Linked DNA regions of Homo sapiens: region 1 is linked to region 2. The links are contacts of gene promoters, found by promoter capture Hi-C in blood cells and fetal thymus (Javierre and others, 2016). All regions are on one chromosome and are shown on one strand. Each heading gives the region's core, a stretch centred on a gene start or on the middle of the fragment in contact. The rest is flanking DNA. Distances are from core to core; before and after follow the strand shown. Region 1 overlaps ROCK1 (Rho associated coiled-coil containing protein kinase 1). Region 2 holds the start of ROCK1 (Rho associated coiled-coil containing protein kinase 1).

The links. The method cuts DNA at HindIII sites, captures the fragments that hold promoters and counts their contacts. A CHiCAGO score of 5 or more calls a contact.
Region 1: a contact is called between a fragment that was not itself captured here and the fragment with the promoter of ROCK1 in region 2, in 3 of 17 cell types (naive CD4 T cells, total B cells and naive B cells). The highest score is 5.5, in naive CD4 T cells.

What each region holds. Positions count from the first base shown.
Region 1 is chr18:21,062,281-21,066,451 of GRCh38, forward strand. The region is part of intron 2 of ROCK1 (Rho associated coiled-coil containing protein kinase 1); the gene reads right to left. Among named protein-coding and RNA genes, the nearest start is that of ROCK1, 47 kb to the right of the region's middle. The HindIII fragment of the contact is 179 bases long and covers 1,309-1,487 here.
Region 2 is chr18:21,109,264-21,114,048 of GRCh38, forward strand. It overlaps ROCK1 (Rho associated coiled-coil containing protein kinase 1), which reads right to left and starts at 2,550. Exons shown (of 33, transcript NM_005406.3): 1 at 1,555-2,550. The coding sequence starts at 1,647. RefSeq lists enhancers at 2,203-2,791, 2,445-2,739, 2,839-3,058, 3,089-3,148 and a silencer at 2,409-2,798. The HindIII fragment of the contact is 6,843 bases long and covers 413-4,785 here.

The DNA.
Region 1 (4,171 bases), core at 148-2,647, 48 kb before region 2:
TTTTTAAAAAAAGTAAGAACATGTCAAAGAACACAGGAGTAGGAGCTGGGTCCAACCTGAAGGAGCTCCCAAAAGGCAAAAATGAGAACAATTTAAGTAACAAAGTATTAGGTTGGTGCAAAAGCAATTGAGATTTTTGCTAAAAATAGTGGCAAAAACTGCAATTACTTTTGCACCAACCTAATAAATAACACACTACTGGATTACAACCCAAAGTATGAAATAAATATATGCAGTTTATATTATATAAATCAATGACTAAATTAATAAATGGGGGAGAAAAGGCAAATCTTCCCTACAGAATTCCAAATAATACGTGTAAAGTCTCCCCTCCAGGAGAGTATGGAAAGGGAATACGCTCCCCTCCACAGCGTTTGGAAAAAGAAAATGGTAACTTACTAGTGGAGAAGCTTGCCAGACACTACCTTAAACCAAATGATAAGCGTTAACATCACCAGTGATGTGCCTAGATTTATGATGGAGTTATGTTCCAATGAAACCCTCATAAAGCTGGAAATTTTAAAGTCAGAGACCACCTGGACTTTCTAGATCATCTCTAACAAGTCAGTATCCAACGTCTAATGCACTGAGCTCATATATAACAAGTACTTACTATGCTGTCAGGTTTGGCAGTAAAAACATAAATGCCCCTGCTCTCATGGCACTTAAAATCTAGTGACAGGAGAAGGAGAAAAAGGAGAATGGATACTGTCTTAGTCTGTTTTTTGCTGCTATAACAGAATACCACAGAATGGGTAATTTATAAAAGAAAAAAGGGCATCTGGCAAGGGTCATTCAATGGTAGACAAGTGGAAGAGTAAGAGCATACATGCACAAGAGCTCACTTTTATAACCCCTTCCCACAATAACAGCATTAATCCATTCATGGGGGTGGAACCCACATGACCTAATCACTTCTTAACGTCCCCACCTACTAGCACTGGCAATTAAACTTTAATGAGTTTTGGTGGGGGCATTCAAACCACAGCAGGTACCAATTAAATAGTCATACAAATAAATATAACCTGTGATAAGTATACAAGATGCCATAGAAGTACATGCTCAGAAGGTCAGATCCATGAAGCCTAGATAACCAAGAGGTTAGGGAACAAAAATGAAGGCTTATTTGAAATTTAAAGGATGACTGCTTTGAGTTGGGTGGGTTGGAAAGAATTCTAGAAAGAGAAAAACAACATCTGAAAAGTCTTATGGAGGTGTCATGGTACTTTCCAGGAAATAAATGTCAGCGTGTAGCTGATGTGTAAGGAAACAAGGAGGAGAGGTGTACAGTTAAGAATGTAATTTAGAAGCTTAGATAGCATCAAGTTTAGAAAATCCACCAAAAAGCTGGGAATGGAATTTGACTTAAATTTACTATTCAAAAAGAATCCTCTGGCAGCAACGTAGGTAACTGTACATAGGCAAAAGTAGATGTATTATTGAGACTGAATGGAAGATTTTTGTGATCATTTAAATGAAAATGAAGAAGCTTAAACAATAGTTGTGTTGGAAAAAGAGGGAAAGTCAAGCCTCTGTATGAAGACTGCCACTGTTCAGAAATCTGCACTTATCAGTCTTTTCTTTGGTTTATTATAACCAGACCATTTACCTATCTTTAGTTTTTTGGGAACTCCATCATTCTCCAAAGTTTCTCTAAAGATCTTCAATCACCTCAGCATGTTAATTCAATAGGTGTAAACTGCCTTGATTTAGAGGTATTTAAAACACTCAAACTTTCTCCTCTTCCTTGAACTTACTTCAATTTCTTTATCTAAGTTTTTAAAACTCATGAGAATTTGAAAAGAAAAAACAAGCAACTAAGTAATTTTTTTTAATATCCAACCCATTAACCCAAAAGCCCCAGCCTGCCATTTCAGTCTCATCCCCTGCAGTCCGTCCTCCCGACCCTTTCTCTCTCATTATAAACCAAGTTCAATTTACACCAAACTCCTGGTTCCTCAAAGATGTCATACTTTTGGAAGACTCTGTGATTTAAATGGTCCTCCCTCTCAGAACTGTCCTTCCTCCATTGAAAAATCTAGCCCATGTTTTAAGACTCAAATATTACTTTCTTTTGGAAGCCTTTCTTTACCCCATTCAAGATCTGTGTATCATTACATTCTCTACAAACTTCTACTATTATAAGGTATATCTGTGTGTGTTTCCATCCATGAGATGGTAAGAGCTACAGTTTCTAAGAAAAACAGTCTTGTTCTTCATGTCTTTAGTAACTGGTCATTCAAAAACTATTTCAAGAATGGTCTCATGTAGTGAAATTATCCTTTTCTCACACATCTTGAATCCTAATTCTAACCAGGAAGGATGGGAGTAGAAGAGAGAATGACTTGTAAAGGGCTTAAGAGCTTTTCACAAGTTGTGGCTCATTATAGTCTTCTAGCCTAACACATTTTTAATAGATTTATACTACTCTTTTGTATTTATCCCTGGATATGTATTCATACTTCTGATCTGGTTCATAAAACTTTATAATCTCAGCTGAGAACTCCCTGTGGAAGAACCTTGCTTTCTATGGCTGCAACCTTCTAATATTTATTGCTTTTGATTACATTTTCTAAGCTTGGAGCACGTGTCTAACTGCGCCCACTATTTCTTTCCTTCATCAACATAAAGTCTTAGGCAGTTTTGCCTCTCAAGGGATATTTGGCAATGTCTAGAAATATTTCTGGTGATCACAACTGGGGATAGGTGTTAGGATATGCTACTGGCATTAAGAAGGCAGAGGCCAGGGGTGCTGCTAAACATCATACGATGCAAAGAACAGCCTCCCAGCAAAGAGTTATCTGACCTAAAATGTCATTGGTGCCACTTGAGAAACCCTGGTCTAAAGTGAACTGAATGCTTTGTCTCAAGGTCTGTGTAACATTCTAAATGATCATCGCTTTTGATCACTAACTCTGAATAGTGATTATTCGCATTACTTTCTCAGTAATTGTACTAGTGCCAAAGCAACCAAAAATTTACCAACTGTACTGTATGCTTTTATCACTACCATAGCTATTATGTCACTTTTGTAATCTATATTATAAAAGATATAGTATATGACATAAAATATCAGTTCTGTTTTTTTTTTAAGCCAAACAAATGAGCTCTCTTGCATTTATACCCGGAGGTTCATGAATTTTCTTCATTCAATGGTCTTACCTTCTCCATTATCTTCTTTTAGACTAAGATTTGTTTGATAAACATGTTTTTCTATTAACATATAATTATGAATCTTGTACCCTAAAGTCTCTGTGACATCCATAATGGTTTATAAGCATATACAATCATAATCACTGTTCCCAAATTTTCTCTCCCTTCATCCTCCCAATGTTCTGGCTCCCAACATGTGTCTTCAAAACTGTGACTAACTCCCACAACAATCGCTTAATTTTATCTTGGTATCATCTCTCTAACTCCTATGAAAATGTCACCTGAAATCTTTCCTTATCAGGTATGTGAGGCTGATAAACATCTTCTTTGCAGCCTTATTATTTAGGTATCATACACCAGAGCCCAGAAAAGTAAATCTTTATATTTCACTATTCAGTCAAATGTTCACAGATTCTCCTTTCCCTTTTGTTTCCACACACTTCTTAACACAAAGAGATAAAAATTAACAGGTTGCAATATAATTAAACCTGATGATTAAAAATTATATTTGAGGCTTAATTTAATATGACTTAAGCTGAATTTTTTAAAGAAAAATATTTTATCCCATATTCCAGGTATATTCTTAGATCACTACATCTGATATATGTCAGCAAAAAGCAATTAGAAACAAAACAAAAATTTACCTTTAATAAAATAATTTTGATGTGCTTGCTGATGAAAGCTAAATCTATATAAAAGAATTTCAGCGGTATGTAAAATGCTATCCTATACAAATCTATTGCTCTGTGTGAAACATAAAAACACAATGCCAGTAATTGAAGGAGAATGTTCTAATTATATTGAAAAAATAAGTTTGTTATGTTTATTTACACTTATAACATGTTTATTCACCTTGTTTTTGTTCATGTCTTTAAATTTTATTATGATTTCATGGTAGCCACATACATTGTTTTCCTTAAAAAATTAACTTACATAGAAGTAATTTTTTTTCTTGAAGTAACATATTGGTTTAGAATTAGGCTGATTACTAAATGAGCATTAAACTTCATGTTTTTTA
Region 2 (4,785 bases), core at 1,300-3,799:
ATATTTCCTTGTATCCTCCACATGTAAATAAAGGTCCCCACCAAATGAAGCTATAGCAAGAGGCCAGAAGATGATTTAAAGAAAAAGAAAGCTACTAAACCCTCCCTATAACACCACTCATGTAATAAGGAGATCGAAAAGCAAAATAAAATCAAAAATATATGAAAACTGGATAAATATTAAAAGATAAATCAGACTTCTTAGAAGTTATAGAAATCCTTACTACAAGATATATTCTAATTCCTTCCACTTATCTCGTTTAATAAAATGTTTTAAAATCTATTACGCATCAACCTTCTTTACTATCTCTCAATATAAAGAGCATCCATAATGTGGTGAGACATTTCAAACAACCCACAATAGTCTTATTTCCTGGTCAGGGATGCTTACAACAATTCTGAAAGCTTTGGGAAGCTTGTTGTAAAACCCATACACGTGGAAAAATACAAATAAACAGAAATTTAGAGTAACTGAAATGCACGTTAATTTTAAACAATCTACATTAATTTTCCTTTGATTCAAGATGCGATTTTTGAATTGTATTATTTCTTTGAATGGTATTATTTTGTTTCCTTAATCTTAATCCCCAAAATTGAGCATATCTAACATTATTTCACCGAAGACATTGTGAAATCCTGTCCATATACATGCTCCCTGAAACCTTATTTTAGAGATTATGTGGTTTTGTTTGGACCAAGAAATATTATATAACCCTTAGTTGTTCAGAAACTCTGAACAACTTTGATACATTTACAGAGGAAATGTATCAAACCTAAGAATTCCAATTATTTACAGATAACTGTATTATCAACCACTTAACTATTTTTAAAATGGGATTGTGGTTTTTCATGTCATAAAACCCTCTTTAGAATGTTTTACAAGTGACAATGTTAAGTGCCACACCACCAAAAAGACAGTTACAATAACTGTATGGTACGTACTTTTGTAACCAATAATACAATAAAATAAGTTAACACTGTAATTACCTATGACCAATTATCTTGGTTTTTTACAATAGTTTAGCAAAAAGTTCCTTCAAACTCAAATCACCTATGAAATTTTGGCTCAAAAATCACTTCCTCAATAGCAATTCTCCGTTATCATTTTCAAGGCTAAAAACTAAACCCCTAGGAGCTAAATCGCAAAAAGGAAAAAAAATGCAAAGTAGTCTTTCCAATTTAACTGTCAAACGGATCAGAAAGATTAACATTAATTACTACGATCGCCATTCAACAAACTGTATACATTGCAGTAACTCTGACGTGATAACTTTTTATAGGATGCCTGCAATAGCAGTTTGTAAGTATCTTTCGGGTACTCATGAACTGAGTCAGAATTAAAAGTTCAGAGTAGTTAGTACAGAGCCAGTCAAATGGCAAATAGGACCACACCATGAGATGTTAATGGTACTCCAAGATTCTTCAGGAAACAGAAATCTAGCATTTTCCAAGACGATTATGCACACCTGAGACTTTTGCAGCGAACCAGACTAATGCAAGAGGAAGGAAAGACATGCAAAACCCCAGACAAGCAAAAGAGAACAGCGCTACTCACCAGCAAACAATCCGAATTCACTTCCGATTTGGGATCCCGCAGCAGGTTGTCCATTTTTTCAAATCGAGTCTCAAAACTGTCCCCAGTCGACATGTTGCTGCTGCTGTGACAATGCCCTCTTACCAGCACCAGCAGCGGAAAGCAATTTCAACCAACTTCCTCCGCGGTGGGTTCGCAGCCGCGGGGCGGAGGAGCCGGAACCTCAGGGTCACCAGGTGCGCCCGGTTCCCCCGTCTTCCCCTCACTGAGGGGACCTCCGCTCTCCAGACCCCGGGCCGGGGGCAACAGCGACCCACAGCCGCTCGGACGCCCAAAGTCGCATCCCACCCGGCAGCCCCTCACGACAGCCGACAGCGCCGTCGCCACCAGCCTCGTCGCTCCGGCGAGGTGCTTCAGTCTAGCGGGCCCCGGCCGCCGTCGCCATGGAGGGGTCCCCGTCCCGAGATGGGCAGGAGCGGGTAGAGAAAGAGAAGCAGGGTGGAGACTCCCTCCGGGCAACAAGGGAGGGAGAAGAGGAAAGGCGAAAGCAAAGGGCGGGTGAGGAGCTGTGCCAGCTGCGGCCGCCGCTCGGGCCACGGGCCGGGCCCGCTCCGCTCAGAGGCGCTGTAGACGGTCTAGCCCCGCGTCCCCGGCTCTACTCGGCCCGGCCCGACGCACCGATCAGTCTCGGCCACGAGCTGGTCCACGCAGGACAGCCTCACTCTCCCATTTTGTCCCGTCGCTGCTGGGGCTGCTGCTACGGTGTCCGGTGGGGCAGGGCGAGGTCGATGCCCGATGGAGACTTAGCAGAGGAAAGGCTGGAGAGCGGGCGAAGAGGAAGACGATAGTTGGGTCCCGGCGGCTGCTGATGGGGGAGCTTCTGGGAGGGGCTGCGGTCCCAGCCGGGGAAAGGGCGAGTCGCGGCGGCGAATGCCTGGGGGGTGGGGCGAGGGGGGCTGAGAGGGACTAATATGTCCGCCTTCCTGTTCAAACAAACGGAGACCGCCGGGGCAGACTGCGCATGCGGGGCGCGGACGCTCGGAAGGGGAACCAGCCGGGACCCCGCGCGCGCGCGCGCACTCTGTCGCCTCCGCAGGGTGGGGTGGGGCGGGGCGGTGAGGTGGGCGGGGCCTTGCGGGCAGGCGGTGGAGAAGGCGGACCGCTGGGAGGAGCCGAGTGCGGGTAAGCAGCTGCCGGCAAGGTTCTCGCCTTGGCCGGCTCTGAGGAGCCATGCAGGGCTCTGGAGCGGCCTTGGAGGTCCGGACGGAGGCGGAGCTCTGGCTGCTTCTGATCGCTGTCCCGGCAGATGCCCCAGCTCTGTTTCCTCTGGGTTGCAGCCAGTCCAGAGACTTCTGACGAGGAGAGAGTGCTTGTTCTCCTTGTTGCTGTTAGGGTGGGGCAATAGGTTCTTTTTTAGGCAAGAAGCCTTTTCGTCGGCAGGTACCAGCATTGAGCACCAGTGGCGTTTGGTTTTCAGTGGTACTCCATGGACAGCCCTCCGCGAGCCCCGGCGTTGAACCCATTTACGATTCACTGGGAAAGTTCCGAAGCGCTGCAGCGCTCAGCCCTCCCACGCCAGGCGTGTGTGTCAGGGGAGCCATAAAATACTGACTCCGGAAGATACAGTCAATAGAAGTCAAGCTCAATTTAATTTTTTTAAAGGAAAATAATCTCGTAGAAAAAAATCAATATTTTTAAGTCGTTCGTGTTAGTTCTCATAACACCCCTACTGTAGTTCTCTCCTGGACGTGTAATGCTGCCGTTTCAATGTCAAAACATTCAGTGAAACTTAATTGTGATTTTTATCAGAACTAATGTAGGACATGAGAATAATGGGCATTTCTCCTAGTTCCGTTACTTCGTTGACTGTGGTGTGAGGAAAGGTGAAAGACTTGTCACTCACCCCCGCTGATAAAGTTATGTTCTTCACTGGTTTCAGCAGGAAATCTACCTTAATTTATTCCTCATCAAACTTTATTTTTGCTCAGAAGCCAAATTAAGGATCACTAGAAATAGAAAATGTGGATCTTTTACCCCATGATGGAAAATGCTACAGATGAACCAAAAAGCATCGGAGTAAAAAGCATCGTACAGCATCTGAACAGTCCACCAGCCTTACGATGTGAGTCAGAGGTTAGGAAAATCTTACACTGTTTGAAAAAATGTCTATTTCTATTTTCAATTTATTAAATACAAGAAATATTTAGATATAAAATCCACTATATATATCAAGATAGGACGTTCTTGGTTTATACAAAAATCATAACAAAGACAACTAGACAAACCAGGTATTTCATTAAATGCCTTTGCAGCGACTTTTCTTGGCTCCAGCATTTTAAGTCATGTGAATTAGACTTATTTTTAAGCATAGGGCTTAAAATAAATCAGGCAGTTGCCCTAAAATAAATTTCCTAAACCCTGCTTGTCTTTTTTTTATTATTATTACCATTTTTAGGTATTAGGAATTTTGTTGTTTCTCAGAGAACCGTGAACATTATGTTGCTTTCCATTTAGACACATACGAAAAAATACAAGTAGTTAAGACAATACATGAGTGACACTGATAAATATAAGTGGAAGTGATAACCAACCTGGCAGAACTACTAGAAATATATGTGGGGTCCATATATTTCTAGAAATATCTACTAGAAATATAGGTGGGGTCCATATATAGCTTACTTACCTACAAGGCTCTTCTGATTATTGTGACACATCACTAGTTATCTTCTGCCATAAGATAGATGGACTCTAAATCTAGTTATCTTCTGCCATAAGATAGATGGACTCTAAATTAACTTTTTTTTTTTTCTCCGAGGCGGAGTTTCACTCTTGTCTACCAGTCTGGAGTGCAGTGGCACGATCTCGGCTCACTGCAACCTCTGCCTCCCGGGTTCAAGCGATTCTCCCGCCTCAGCCTCCGGAGTAGCTGGGATTACAGGCACACGCCACCACGCCCAGCTAATTTTTGGTGTTTTGTTTGTTTTATTTTGTTTTGAGATGGAGTTTCACTCTTGTTGCTCAGGCTGGTGTGCAATGTCGCGATCGCGGCTCACCGCAACCTCCACCTTCTGGATTCAAGTGATTCTCCTGCCTCCCGAATAGCTGGGATTACAGGCATGCTCCACCATGCCCAGCTAATTTTGTATTTTTAGTCGAGATGGGGTTTCTCCATGTTGGTCAGGATGGTCTTGAACTCCCGACCTCAGGTGATCCGCCCACCTTGGCCTCCGGAAATGTTGGGATTACAGGCGT